Linked DNA regions of Homo sapiens: region 2 is linked to region 1. The links are contacts of gene promoters, found by promoter capture Hi-C in blood cells and fetal thymus (Javierre and others, 2016). All regions are on one chromosome and are shown on one strand. The core of a region is centred on a gene start or on the middle of the fragment in contact, and the rest is flanking DNA. Distances in the headings are between cores, read along the strand shown. Region 1 holds the start of MTX2 (metaxin 2). Region 2 overlaps LOC105373760 (a long non-coding RNA gene).

Region 1 (7,752 bases), core at 3,062-5,561:
ATCTACCCTTTTAAAAATATCTTTGTAAACCTTATATATTAGATTGCTTATAGTTGTCTACAGTTTGTTTCTAAAGCAGTAAAGACTATTAACAGAGGAACTTAAGGCACTGAAGCATAACATTGTTACAGATATGGTTTGGATTCGTATCCCTGCTCAAATCTCATGTACAATTGGAGAAGAGGCCTGGTGGGAGGTGATGGGATCATGGGGGCAGATTTCCCCCTTGCTGTTCTCGTGATAGTGAGTTTTCACGAGATCTGATCCTTTAAAGGTGTGTGGCACTTCTCCCTTCTCTTTCTCTTCCTCCTGCTCCACCATGGCAAGACATGCTTGCTTCCCCTTTGCCTTCCACCATGATTGTAAGTTTCCTGAGGCCTCCCAGCCACGCTTCCTGTTCAGCCTGCAGACTGTGAATCAATTAAACCTCTTTTCTTTATAGATTACCCAGTCTCAGGTAGTTCTTTATAGCAGTGTGAGAATGAACTAATACAGTTATTTTAGTGTTTTTAACTGTATTAACACTCTATTTGGGTTGATTGATTTAACTATAGTTAATTCTGTTGATGAGGTATGAGGGAGTAATTTGATAAAAAGGTCTGAATTTATATATTGTTCTTAAGTAAATAGTAATTTTAAAGGAATCATAGACAAAAATGTTTCCTTGCTGACACCTTTTTAAAAATAAAACGTTTACCTTAAAAATATTAACATTCTGTCAGAGAAAATTAAAAGGTAGATAAAATATCTTAGTATTTTAATCTTAATAAAGTATATATTCATCATAATAACTGCTTATTTTCTTACATTTAATACAGTAACATAAAAGTCTAGATTAGGGACATGAAAATATTCTATAATAGTTTTGCAAGAAAGTGATTTTATTAGGGCAAACAATAAGACTGTTAATGTCATGCATTGATATTTTATTTAAAAAATTGTGTAATTATTTTTTTAGTAACATATGGATTCCCCAGCACTTTTGTTTTATAACCTCATTCTTAAAAATTCTGGTGGCTTGTTTTCTTGTATTTCCCTCAATTGTGGTGATCTTAAACAGATCTTCAGTTTTAAATCTGCCGTTCGTTCTAATACAGATGCGTAAATATATTTTCTCCAGTTGGCTATTTATTACAAAGACAGTTTATTTGTGGGCACCATAAAGACATCTGCATTTTACTGAACTTAATTTTTAGTAATAAAGACCTCCCACATTACAGATTCTTTCCAGCCTAAATGTGCCTGTGTGGGAAGCAAAAGAACCATCAGTCAGGGGGAAAAAGTGAATCCATATGGTGCTGATGATTCTGCTTCCCTGGCTAAAATGAAGAAAGAGTTGAGTATCGACAATGCCCCCGGCACATCTCTGTTTTTTTCTAAAAAGCATGCTGCTATGGCTTGAATATTTGTGTCCCTCAACAACTCATATGTTGAAACTCAATTGCCACTATGGTAGTATTAAGAAGAGGTGGGGAATTTAGGAGGTAATTAGGTCAAGAGGGCTCTGCCCTTATGTATGGGATTAGTGTCCTTATAAAAGAGGCCCAAGGGAGTTTATTTGCCCCTTTTGCCCTTCTGCCATGTGAGGACATGTACAAGGTGCTATCTGTGAGAACTGGGACCCCCAAGACACTGAATCTGCTGGTGCCTTGATCATGGACTTTCCAACCTCCGAAAGTCAGGGCAGTATATTTCTGTTTATAAATTATCCAGACTAAGATATTTTGTTATAGCAGCCCTAATGGACTAAGGCACTTGCCATAATAAAGATGATTGGTGTCAGTCCCAAACCAGTACCTTCCAGCCAGCTCAGTTCATGCATGTATCATGCATCAAGCCATGGGTACTTAACTTAAATTTTAAGGGCACATTCTACTTTGCCTCTAATCTTGCTCTGTTTCTCTTGCATCTGTGTCCAGTCTCTGGCTCTTTCCAGTCTCTTCCACTTTGGGGCTCACTTCTACCCTTTGGATATGTTTGATTTTGGTTTCCCCAGTTGAATCTTCATTACTCTCTAGGGACTTTGGCTCAAGTTCTCACACAGGCCCTATGATATGGAGAAATCTTAAACTTCAAATCTGTCAAAAAGTAGTCAAAATATTGTGTCTTCAGCTTTATAAAAATGACAAACCAAAATTAATAATAGAACTTAAAGTGATGATATGTCTTCTTCATTATTACAGTTATACATAATTCTCCACTGTGAGGAGAACAGACAGGGCCTGAAAGCTTTTCTTTTGATTGATAACAAAGTATCTGGAACAGCTCATTTCTCTTGGTCAATAATACCTATGGGATGAGGAGGAAATTGGATCTCATGTATTCTTTACTATCAGTGTTACCTCTCTCTGCACAAACAAGAAAAACCTATTAATATTATCTTCCCTGTATTTCTACTATTCACAGCTGCTTGTCAACTCTGAATTTCAGCTATAGAGAAGACACTACTTCCTAAGACGCTGCTGTGTTTATGTCAATGTAAATTATTGGGTAAATTTAAATGCTGTTTAAGAAGCTTCCTTTTGCTGAGGGAGATGAAAATATGACTTAACCTTAAAAAAATTATGGGGCTGGGCACAGTGGCTCACGCCTGTAATTCCAGCACTTTGTGAAGCCAAGGCGGGCGGATCATGAGGTCAGGAGTTCGAGACCAGCCTGGCCAACATGGTGAAACCCGGTCTCTACTAAAAATACAAAAATTAGCCGGGCATGGTGGCACGCACCTGTAATCTCAGCTATTTGGGAGGCCAAGGCAGGAGAATCGCTTGAACCTGGAAGGTGGAGGTTGCAGTGGGCCGAGATCACGCCACTGCACTCCAGCCTAGGTGACAGAGCAAGACTCCATCTCAAAAAAAAAAAAAAAAAAAAAGAAAAGAAAAGAAAAGAAATCATGTTAAGATGAGGTCCTGCTGGATTAGGGTGGGGGTCCCTAACACAATGACTGGTGTTATTTCTCAAGAAGAGAGAAATTTGAACACATTGACACACAGGGGGAATGCCGTGTGATGTGGTGGCAGAGATTGGAGTGATGTATCTACAAGCCAAAGTACATGGAAGATTGCCGGCAACCCCCTTCTCTGGAGCCTTGCAAGACAGCATGGCCCTGCTGACACCTTGATTTCAGACTTCTAGCCTCCAGAATTGTGAGAATGAATTTCTGTTGTTTAGCCAACCAGTTTGTGGTAATCTGGCAGCTCTAGGAAACCAACCACGCTAGTTAAGGAGGCAGAATGAACAGTAATAGAGATCTACGGATATAAAGAATGGAAATATAGCTTTCTAAATGTCATGGACAGTAATTCTTAGAATACAGGTTTCCTCTGCAAAAACCTAGTAAGCTGTCTGACTTTTTGATTTACTGTGTGATTTAAAATGAGTTACCTCACCTCTCTGAACTTGTTTCTCATCAGTGAAGGGGGCTTTGGGTTACCAGCTCTGAAGCCTGTCCCACTTGTAATACCACCAATCTGTAATGCATATGATTTTTCTTTAATTGTGTAATTTAAGAAGCTATTAGGTTAAGACAAAGTTACTCAGGGAATTTAGTTTCTCCTCTTCCTGCCCCGTTCACCCCCGAAAGGTGAGAAGTGTGTGAAACTAAAGTATCTTATTCTCCAAGCTGAGCATCATTTCGGGTGTATGGAGTTGAAGGACAAATTACCTTCTGGCTTAGGCGCTGCTCAAGCCTCCTTTCTGCCAAGCATGTTTGAATAAACAACAACAACAAAAAACACTAATGTCTATCCACGGACTAATCAACCCAGCAATATAATGGAATAGAGGGAATTCATGCAGCCTTGAATCTGGTCCTTGGAGGACTGCCTGGGCAGGCAGTTTAAACTCCTTAAGCCTATATTCTTATCCGTAAAATGGCGATAATATTATTACTTTAATGGGTTGTTGAGAAGACGAAGTCAAATAGAATATATGTGTATATATATGTATATATGTGTATATATGTACATGTGTACATATATACGTGTATATATTATATATGTGTGTATGTGTGTGTGTATATATGTATATATGTGTGTGTAGATATAGGTATATAAGTGCCTGGTATCCAGTGGGCGTTTACAAATGTTACTCGGTTACAAAATTCTGGCTTACAGAAAGGACGCTAAAAATCTCCCAGATTCCCCTGCCAGTCCCCTGGGTGGGAGACGAGTCGGGTACTTCGCTTCCACCTGCGGGCCCCCAGCGCAGAGCCTGGAATTGGCTGGACGGAGCTAGCCGCGCCGGCGCCCCGTAGGACGGCGCGGGGGCGGGGCCGGCGGAAGCGCTCGAGTGCCGTTGTCGGCTGCGCCGGAAGTCCCTAGCCAGGCCTGGCGGTAACCTTGGGGGCCTCACTGCAGCCGCCGCTGCTGTTGGAGTGGGCTTTGCGAGTCTGAACGTTGGCGGGGCTAGGCTCGTTAACTGCCGAGAGCCTCCGGGTTTGCGGTGGAGGACGCTGAGGCCCGTGGGGGGCAGGCACCCGGGCGCCGGGCCTCCCAGCCGACATGTCTCTAGTGGCGGAAGCCTTCGTCTCCCAGATTGCAGGTAGCGCGGCTGGCCGCAGACCCAGAAGGTGGCGGCGCGGTCTCGGGGAGCCGCGTGGGGTACAGGGCTGGAGCTTTCCTCCAGCCTTGCGGCATTATACGCTGAACCCGGCCCGGATGGTGGAGGCGGGCACGGACTACCAACCTTATCTCACATATGGGAAAACTGAGAAGGAGACACTTGGCCAAGGTCACCCCGCAGGAGCAGGAGTCCCGTCTCCTTCCCTTGGGCGGTACTTTGTCCCACCTCCCCATTCAGTTGGGAGGTGCTGGAGTATGAGGGGGAGGCCTTGGATTGGGATTGAGGTGGGGGGCGTTACCACAGGGGCAAGCATCTGAACGCTTCAGTCTAAGAGTGGTGGCAGTTTCTGGGTCTTGGTACTCAAAAAGTTTAAGGTGACTGTCACTAATCAGTTGTTACCTATTGTTGAGGGAACACCAGACTTCTTGCTTCGTCTCCCAGCGACACAGTAGTGCCATTTGCTAAGACTCTAGGAGTTATTTATTTATTTATTTGTTGAGACGGAGTTTCTCTTTTGTCACCGAGGCTGGAGTGCAGTGGCACAACCTGGGCTCACTGCAACCTCCGCTTCCCGGGTTCAAGCGATTCTCCTGCCTTAGCCTCCCGAGTAGTTGGGATTACAGGCGCCCGCCACCACGCCCGCGCGGATTCATGGAAAATTTTTAAATCTGCATGTACTTTAAAGAAATACTTTTGAGTCGGTGGACTGAACATGACTGATGTATATAGGTTTGTAATTTCTCTTATTGAGGTTTTTATTTATTGTAATGAAAGAAATTAAATATTGTTGAGAAAGTGAGGAGACTAAACATAGGTACTTTGAGATAGAGGCTAATGGAATTAGTCATAACTCCCTAGCAGTGTTTTCAACATGAGTACAGTAATGAAGACAGTCACCACAATAAATAGGTACATTTGAAGTAATAAGATAGTATTTTGGAAATGGGAAGTACAGAATGTGTCATAAAATTTGCCGGAATGTTTTTCACTGCTTTGCGTTTGTGTGAACGTACATTTCTTTTTTTTCCTTCTTCACTTAAAAACATTATTTTTTAGAGGAGAGAAGCTCCTACTAGATTGCAAGCTTCCTGAAAGTAGGGATCAAACTTGTTTTGTTCCCCATTGTATCCATAGTCAGTTGGTGCTCAATAAATATTTGCGACCCAAATCAATGACTAATCTTGAGATTTCAAGCAATGATTATTTCTGCTTTTACCATTTATGTTGAAACAAAATCAGGCTTATATAGTTAGATCAGCGATTTAATTTAGTTTGCTACTATGTTGAAAAAAAAAACTTCACAGTGTATGTTGAGTGGTTCACTGTGTGCATGTGTCCTAATATGTGATTTCTTTTAATGAGAAAATGATGAATGTCTTTTAATAAACTTTGGATACTGCTTTAAGTAGTGACGTTTAAAAATTTCTAGGCATTTTGTCTGTCTGCCGTCTTAGCTATTTGTAGTGATCTGTTACTCTAGGAGGAAGCATTTAAAAATGGATAATTCAATAAATGGTGTTGGAACAACTACTAAGTCATTACACCACATGAATAAATTCCAGATTGATTAAAGATCTAAATATAAAACAACAAAATTGTAATAAAATAATTAGAGGAAAACATAGATTATTTTAATAATCCTTGGATAGCAGAAGAGGCCTAAGCAAAACTTAAGAATTCATAATCCATAAGAGAAGAAATTGGCAGATTTGATTGCCGAAAAAATTTTAAAACTTTGATAAAAGACATCTCAAGTTAGTACAAATAAGAAGACAAACCAACAGAATCAAGGACAAAGGATTGGAACAGGCATTTCACAAAAGGGTGAAATATAGATGGACAGTGAACAGATGAAAAGATGTTCTCTGTCCCTAATAATGTATAGCATCCTCCCACCCCTGCCATCAGATGGACAAAAGTGAATATGATTTCTAGTACTAATAGGGCATGGGGAAAAGTTACTCTCAAACTATTGGGTCTGTAAGTTAGTATTACTTTTTGGGAACGTAATGTAGCAATATTTATTAAAATGACATTCTCTGGCCTGAAAATTCTACTTATGGGGGTTTATCTGATAGAAATGTAAAGACCAGTACTTAAAGAAATACACAATGATATTAATTGCAGCATTATTTGTAATAGCGAAAAACTAGAAATGTTTTAAATATATGTCAAATTATTGTACACCAATCCACCAATTCCACTTCTGGGCATGTATCCAAAGGAATTGAAATTGTCTAAGAGGTATGTGCAGTCCCATGTTCATTGCAGCAGTATTCACAATAGCCAAGATATGGAAGCAACCCAGGTGTTTATCAGTGGATGAATGGATAAAGAAAATGTATATAAGATACAATGGAATACTATTCAGCCTTAAAAAAGAAGGAAACCCTATCATTTGTGATAAAATGGATGGATCTGGAGGACATTATGCTAAATGAAATAAGCTAGACATAGAAAGACAAGTAGTGATCTAAAATCTAATCTTTTTGGGGAAATCTAAGAAAGTTGATCTCCTAGAAACAGAATAGAAAGGTGGTTACCAGAGGCTGAGGGGGACAGAGGTGAGAGATGGGGAAGAGGAATGGAGAAGAGATGTTGATCAAAGGGAACAAAGTTTGTTAGACTAGAAGAAAAAGTTTTAGTGATCTATTGCACTGCAAGGTGACCACAGTTAATAATAATGTATTATATATTTCAAAATTGCTAAAGGCTTAGATTTATAATTTTCTTACAAAAATTTAAGTTGGTGCGGTGATGGATATATTAATTACCTTGATTTATTCTTTCTATTCTTTGATTTATTTAGTTCAAAATATCACGTTGTACCTCCTAAATGTACAGTTATTATTTGTCAAAAACATTTATACAAAAATTATGGTATGGTCACATTTTTACAGATCCAAAAATGAAGAAGTATATCTGTTAAATACGTTGTCTTGAAAGCTATGGTTATATTAAGTAAAAAGTTATAAAATAATATCTATTTTGTATGAACTCATGAAATCTATATAAACATACATATGTTTATATATGTTAAGAATATTCAACTAATTGTAACTAGCGATTGGGATAATAAAGATAGATTGTTGGTAGAGGGTGGAGGAACTATATTTCTGAATTGTTTGAATTACTATAGTGAGCATAGTTTACTTTTGTAATTTAAATGATTGTAATTGTTAAAATTTATAA
Region 2 (7,752 bases), core at 2,981-5,480, 870 kb after region 1:
GCCAGTGGCTAGAACTTGGTCAGATGAGTCCAGGCACAGTGGCTCAAGCCTGTAATCCTAGCCCTTTGGGAGGAGTTTGAGACCAGCCTGGCCAACATAGTGAAACCCTGTCTCTACTAAAAATACAAAAATTAGCCAGGCATGGTGGCACATGCTACTCAGGAGGCTAAGGCAGGAAAATCACTTGAACCCAGGAGGCAGAGGTTGTGGTGAGCCGAGATCGCACCACTGCACTCCAGCCTGGGCAACAGAGCAAGACTCTGTCTCAAAAGAAAAAAAGAACTTGGTCAAATGGCCAGTCCTAACTATGAGGGAGACTGGTGGTATAATCTAAAGGTATGTACCCAGGAAAAGGGGAAAACAGGTGAACATTTAATACCCAACCACAAATTATCAGTTGTGTCTTTCAAACATTTCTTTATAATTTCAATTTTCTAAACAAGGATCTAGCAAACTACGGCCTGCAGGCCAGATTTACCTTACCACCTGTTTTCATACTGCCCACAAAATAAGAAATGTTTTGGTATTTTTTAATAGTTAAAAAAATCAAAAGAAGAATAATGATTTGTGACACATATGAAATTCAAATTTCAGTCTCCATAAATAAAATGTTCTTGAAACACAGCCACGTTCATTCATTTACATATTGTCTATGGCTGCTTTTGTACTAAACAACAACAGAGTCAAATAGTTGCAACAGAGGACATATGAATGGGAAAGCCAAAAGTATTTACTACCTGGCCCTTTGCAGAAAAGGTTTGCTCACCTCTGTTTCAAACTGATAAGAGTTTTTAAGAATCGAGCAACAGGTACTTCTAGGCAGTGACCTGAAACACAAATATGCCTGATTGGTAGTTAAAGTATATTCATAGGCATCAGTGATTAAATGAGCTGATACAAAATTGATATCTTTTGGGAACACTGAGGGGTCTGAACAAGCTTCTGGCCATTCCTCTATATGTAGAGTTAGATCAAGAAGAACTTGCAGGCAAAGCTAGAATTTTTCATAAGAAACATTTCTGGATCTATACCAGTTTAAAAACCCATGATTAATCAGTTAGTCATTTTTACATAAGCAAGTAAAGACACACTGTTTTCCAAATTTCTCAAATAAATAAGCATCTCTTCAATAGAACTGTTAGATACTATACTAGCATGGCTTGTTTTTAATAAATAATGTATCACGCTGTTATAGAAAGAATATGATTTTCTGGGGATTGTAAATACTTTAATTCCAATGGTGAAAAGGTAAAGGATAAAGTTGCCTAACAATCATACTTCATGAAATCAAATTTCAAAGTTTATTTATAGATAGTTTCCTGATGATTATGTTAGCATAACTTTATTGTTTCTTGATTACTTAAAAATCAGATCAAGAACAAAAGTAACTCCTTTTTATCAGAATGCCTATCAACCTCAAATACTGACTGATAGCATTCCTTTCTATTAAAGTTTCAAAAGATAAGTAGGTTCACAGGGAATATGTGCTGCTAGTACACACAGATGAACAGTTTTAGAATTTAAGAAGGAATAAAATGTACCAACATATCAAAATAAGCTTTAAAAAAAAATCTTGGCATTAATGTCAATAGGCACTCCCTGGGGAACTCCAGGGACATAAAGCATAAGCTTCAGGACAAAATTTTGCTTGTAGCCACTGTACCTGCAGTCATCCAGAACAAACAAAACCTTCAGCCCTGCAGAGCCAGGCTACCCGAGACCAGAATGCCCCAAATTTGGGAATGACCTCAAAATCACTGTTTCAGAGTTCAATATCAAGCTCCTTGTTTTATATAACATGCAAGTGAGCACAGATTGAGTAAGGAACTTGCCCAGGCCACACAGCCAGCAGTCAGCAGCACTGGCATTAGGACTCCAGCCAGCCCCTTTCCCCATCTTCTGGGTTCTTCCTCTAGGGGTGTCCAATCTTTTGGCTTCCCTGGGCCACATTAGAAGAAGAAGAATTGTCTTGGGCCACACATAAAATACCCTAATACTAACTATAGCTGATGAGCTAATATATATAATATAACATATATATATAACATATAACATAATGTTATATATAACATATATATAACATATAACATATAATATATATATAATATATATAATATATAATATAACATATATATTTGCTCATCAGCTAATATATATGGCCTAGTCCCATAATGAAATACTATATAATATATATATATTATATATATCATAATGTTTACACACCTGTGTTGGGTCACATTCAAAGCCATCCTGGCCGCATGCAGCCCACGGGCCGTGGGTCGGATAACTTTTCAAGTCTACACCATAATTCATCCTCCCGCAGCTGGCTCTCTGGAGCCATCAGTTCATTGACTCAAGCAAGGTTAATGTATCCTCCTTCTAAGACAGATTAAATTCAAGTCCAAAACCACTTAATGCATGAACGTCATCCCAATGAGACCTATAAAGCAGAGGCCCTGTCAGCTTTGTAGGGCCCCAAACATCCCACAATGCCTTTTTGCCAGACCTGAATTGGCAAAACTCTTTGGCCAAAGGCTCAGATGTCTTTCACCCTTCTCTTCAGACTGCATTGGTAAACCACGCTTCTTTTCTTTCCTCCTTGCCTCCTACCTATTTCCTCTGTAGCATCTGCTTTGTAGATCATTCTTCTGTGGTGTGTGAGGACAAACGACACCAACAATCACACCACCACTCAATTGCTGAAGAGTGTAATTCCTGAACAACCAGATGCACCACTTTTACTTTAATACTTCGAATTACTATGTGGAAATCCAGGATGCGTTTGTAGATTTATTTCTACTAACACAACAATTTTTACAAGTAACTAAAACTATGATAAAATTTTATCAGTTTCTGGATTTCATTCCAAGATGTCAAGACATGGGCCACATCCTCTTTAGCAGATTGTCTGGAGGAAAACCCTCCCATCAACCAAACTTAATTAATATTATTTCATGTTACTTGATAGAAATAAATAGTAATCTCCAATTTTTCTTAGCTTTTGAATAGGATATCTGAATTAACAGCATTGATTTATTTAAAATAAAAATAATGATCTCTCTTTACTCTCTAGCTCCCAATCGCAAAATCCCACAATCTCCAATTAACAGTGATTTATTTTATACAAAAATAGTGGCAAAGTTTTCTTTTCTCATCAATCCCCAAAATGTACAATGGTACTTTAGTGCTTCCTCTATGCCAAATCATAGATATCCAATATATGGCCATACTGCCTGATCTCATCTAACCTCAGAAGCTAAGCAGGAATGGTCCAGTTAATATTGGATGGGAGACCACCTGAAAATGCCATGTATAGGCTTTTAAAAAACAAAGCCGAGATACTCAAAGCTTCATCAAAATGGGTAAACACTGTGATAGTGGTTTTCAAAGTGCTTACTAACTAGCTCCAAAACACAGAATTGCTGCAGTACAACCACAAAAGCAGGGGGAACAGAATGTAAAGCATTTGGATTTTAAAGTTTTAAAAGATTTCTAGATGTTTAGAGTGATTAGTTCTGTCCCACTTACAAAATGGAAACTGAGAAACAGAGTTAATCACAGAAACCAGTCTCCTTCCCAACCTATAGTTTTATGAAACTATACAAAGACACAGCTAGGTAGCAACTTCTTCCAGGAAACATGAACATTTAGAATCTCATTTCTTCCATTATATGACTGAATCTAATAAAGAAGTACATTTTTCATGCCACAAAAGACCAAATGAGGCCAAACAAGTATTCTAGAATCAACTTGAGACAGAAAGTAATTCCATTATCATCAATCAGGGTAGCATGCCCTTATTTTATAATAATTTTAAAAATCTTAGTCCATCTCATACACTAAAGAAATTTATTCAGATAAGCTATATTTATTGTTTAATCTTGTGATGGAAGAAAAAGGGACTTTCACTTGCCTAAACTTGATTGTTTAAAAGAGGATATTTAAAACTTTTCCTTGCCAAATGTCCAAAGACTTGTAAACCAGGATATTCATTACAATGCTTTTTATAATTTATAATATATAAAGTAGATAATAACTTAAATACTCAATAAGGGGAGGAGCGATTAAGTAAATTATGGCATACTCCCATAATGAAATACTATATAATCATCAACATTGATTATTAGGGATAATTTATTGTCATGTAAAGATGTTTATATTAATGAGAAAAAGTAATGATAGTATTTAGGATCACAATTTGATAAAAATCTATAGTGAAAATTATATTTCACATACATGGGTATACATAGAAAAGAAAGGTTGGAAGTACAGACATCAAAATAATAATGTTCATTTCTAGGTAGTAGAATTACTAGTAGAATTTTTTTGTTTGTATTTTCCAATTGTTTTACATTAATATCTTTCATTTGCTAAAAAATAGTAATAAAGTATGTAGTGCATCTGAAAAATTTCATTCAAAATGATTAATATTAAAGAACTATTTCCAGCTGTGTGGCACATTAGCTTCGTGGTATATTTCATAGCTTGGTGATTTCAGGTAAGTGACAAATTGCTTTATATCCTTTCTGTACCTGGGTAAACTGAGGTACAAAGTGAAATCAGAGACAGAACTAAAAGCAAAACATGAAGTTCCAAGATTTCAGTTCCCGTTACTAAAATTCATGTATTCATTTATTCAATAAATATTTATTATGCAGCTAAAATGTAAGAAACATAAGGATAAATCATGTATAGATCCTACTCTCAGAGACTGCAATTACTAAGATAATAAGGAATCTACCTAAATTTAAAAAGAGATAATGCTATAAGAGAGGTATGAGTGAAGGAGAGGTTTCTTTTTACTCATGGAGTTAGAGAAGTATTATTGAACAACAAAAAGAACACAGTTGTGATTCAATACTGAAAAGTTGAATTTCTATGGTTATATGATGTGCATTATCTTAGAAAAATGAACTCTATGTAGTACTGAGTGAAAAAGGTGGGTTGATGCAAAACAGTATGTATGTTTATTATACACATTTTACACACACACATCCACATACACCAACGTGCATGTGTAAACCAAACTGCTAACAATGCTAGTCTCTAGTTAGGGGAATTACAGGTGGTTTTTATCATTTTGCTATCTATCATGTCCAATTTTATTACAATGAAGCTTAATGGTGTATTACAAATCAATAAAAGGGGAATACTTGTCCATGGTGACCAAATAAAGCTTGCATCATGCCATGATCAGTGCTGCACTATGCAGAAGCTAATGCTGACATGTGATAGACGATGACCAGGATGCATGACTTGCCCACTTCTTTTCTGATAGCCCCAGCTCTGATTTGTTTCCATTTGACAACACTGAATGAGTGGTACAAAATTATTGTCCCTACCTTTGTGTAATATTCAGAGAACTGAGTAGATGCCTAGAGATTCAAAAAAGGACCAAAATAACCAGAACTCTTGAGAGCGTACCTAATTACACAATCATTAATAATCAATATAGCTTCACAAAGAACTTGTCCTATGTAGATAATAGACAGTCATCCTATTACATAGCAGAGTGGAAGGCCTGATGGATCACAGAAAATTAACTGATGAACCCTAAGCTGGACTTTAGGAAGGCTTTTGATTCTCTCCTACAAGGCATGCTAGGAAAATAGACCAGGAACAGACAACTGTTGATTCATTAACTATAGATTGGCTGGGGAGTTCTAACTAAAGCATTCAAATTGAGGAGACGACAAATGGTGTTTTTGATATCAACCCGAATAACAGACAGAAGAGGCCAAAAAATGAAATTTAGAAGGTAAAATAACAATTTAAGATAAAATTGTACAAATAAGAAACAAAATGTAGATTAAACGTAGTATGGAAAAATGTGTTCAAAGTACACACCTGAATTACAGGAGCTAATTAGAAATTGTTTGCATAGAAATATGACTGTCAGTAGGCATTGCTGTAGCAGTTTAAAATACTGTTTTGACAATGAATACCGAATTAGGACTGACAGACAAATGCATGTTGTCTACACCCATGTTAGCACTTAACATGTTGTATTGCCATTACTTGTTGGCAAATCTTTCTCTCCCTCAAGGTTTTTGTTAAATCTTACTGTATTCCCAGCACCTAGCAGAGTCTGGCAGAGAGAGGATTTTTCAATACATCCTCAGGAATAAATGAGATCATCTCCCATCTTCCTCAGATACCTTAATAAAGCACTAAACTCCCCTCAGAGTGCTATATTTAAAGATGGATATGAATAATTTGCTGAGCATTCAGAGGAGAACTTAAAAAGGTGGGGAGTTGATAAATGAGAATTGGATTTTTCCGTTTATAGAAGAGAAAGCTGGGGGGTAAATTAGTTACAATTTTCTTTTTGAAGAAATCTTACGCAAAAGACATCTTTTTCTATTAAAAATGTCCAAAAGTGTCTGGGTTAGAAGCCCAGATTAGGGAAATGGACCATTAAATATTGGAATGGATAACAACAGAAAAAAAAAAAAAACCTCAACTAAAATATATTTTACTAAATGCTTTCACAAAAGAGCTAGCTCCTGAGCTCCAATGAAGACTCACGTATAAGCCGCTGTGAATTAAGAAGCTGGCCTTTCAACCAAGCCCCTTACGTAAGAGCCAAGACTCCACAATTTCATGATAAATGAGTAACCAGCCATCATCAGAGAGTTTGCACAATTAAACTGACAATTCAAAACTCAATTTTATTTTCATGATATTTATGTTCAAGTTATCATAGAAGTCTGTATCAACAGAATATAAAATATACTATTGATGTATAGAAATTAGATTTCTGGAAAATCCCATACTTATTTCTTCATGTATATTTGCATAGATTTCTATTTTTTTATTAGCTGGTTATTTCTTAATTGAGAGTGTTCTAAATAAAACCTGATATTAAATACAATATAATTATTTCAGTTCCAAAATACATCCAGTATACCCAGTAAATATGGCTTTAGTAAGAAATTGTGAGAAAAGAATCCCACTCTAATTGATTCTCACCTATGTATCAAATATTATTTTGTTCTATTCTTCAATCATTATTTTTTCTTTTTTTTTTAGCTGGGCAGCTCCCTAAACCAGAATAGGTTCAGAGCAACTCCTGGTCATCATTTTTTATTTGCAATATAAAAACTGTTATATATTATATTAATTATAATTTATAATTATAAATTATAATATAATATATTAACTGTTCTAATAACCCATTTGTCACTATAAATAGCCTTTGAGTTTTTCTTCCATTCCAAAAAGGAGTAAAAGGTCCCCCAAACCAATTGATTTAACACCAAATTTAAATAAACCCAAAGACCCTCTCACTTTTCACATTGAGTAGAACAAGGTCAGACTGGGCATCTTCCAAATGTAAAGGCTTAATTGGACTAATTCTTTCATGATAATAATGTATATTTAAGATAGCCACTAAAAATTGTCAATGCTAATTTAGTAGATCAATTCCATTAAATGCTTTGAACTTTTCACCACTTGCTAATCTCATCTATTACAGCTGCTGTTTTTGTTGAAAATCTAAGCTATAACTTAATATCAAATTACAACATTTCTAGGCAGACCTAAAAAATACTTTCTTATATGTGAAATATAACCTAAAAAGACTGTAAGTTGTGTAAATTGTAAGATTCTAGCCATAAAATTTCCTGCAGTCAAAATGCAGAAAGATCTTATCAATCTATTGGCAATTGACATTATGGTAAGAAGCTTATGGGTTTTTTTTTAACATCTTAGAAATAAATGTTTTATTGTATCTAAAATAAAGCTTTAACA

Evidence for each region. The method cuts DNA at HindIII sites, captures the fragments that hold promoters and counts their contacts. A CHiCAGO score of 5 or more calls a contact.
Region 2: a contact is called between a fragment that was not itself captured here and the fragment with the promoter of MTX2 in region 1, in 1 of 17 cell types (activated CD4 T cells). The highest score is 5.2, in activated CD4 T cells.

What each region holds. Positions count from the first base shown.
Region 1 is chr2:176,265,131-176,272,882 of GRCh38, forward strand. It overlaps MTX2 (metaxin 2), which reads left to right and starts at 4,312. Exons shown (of 10, transcript NM_006554.5): 1 at 4,312-4,539. The coding sequence starts at 4,500. RefSeq lists enhancers at 3,953-4,580, 4,581-5,206 and a silencer at 4,159-4,248. The HindIII fragment of the contact is 3,129 bases long and covers 2,514-5,642 here.
Region 2 is chr2:177,135,483-177,143,234 of GRCh38, forward strand. All of the region lies in intron 1 of LOC105373760 (a long non-coding RNA gene), which reads right to left. It also overlaps the pseudogene RNA5SP112. Among named protein-coding and RNA genes, the nearest start is that of MIR4444-1, 73 kb to the right of the region's middle. The HindIII fragment of the contact is 1,768 bases long and covers 3,347-5,114 here.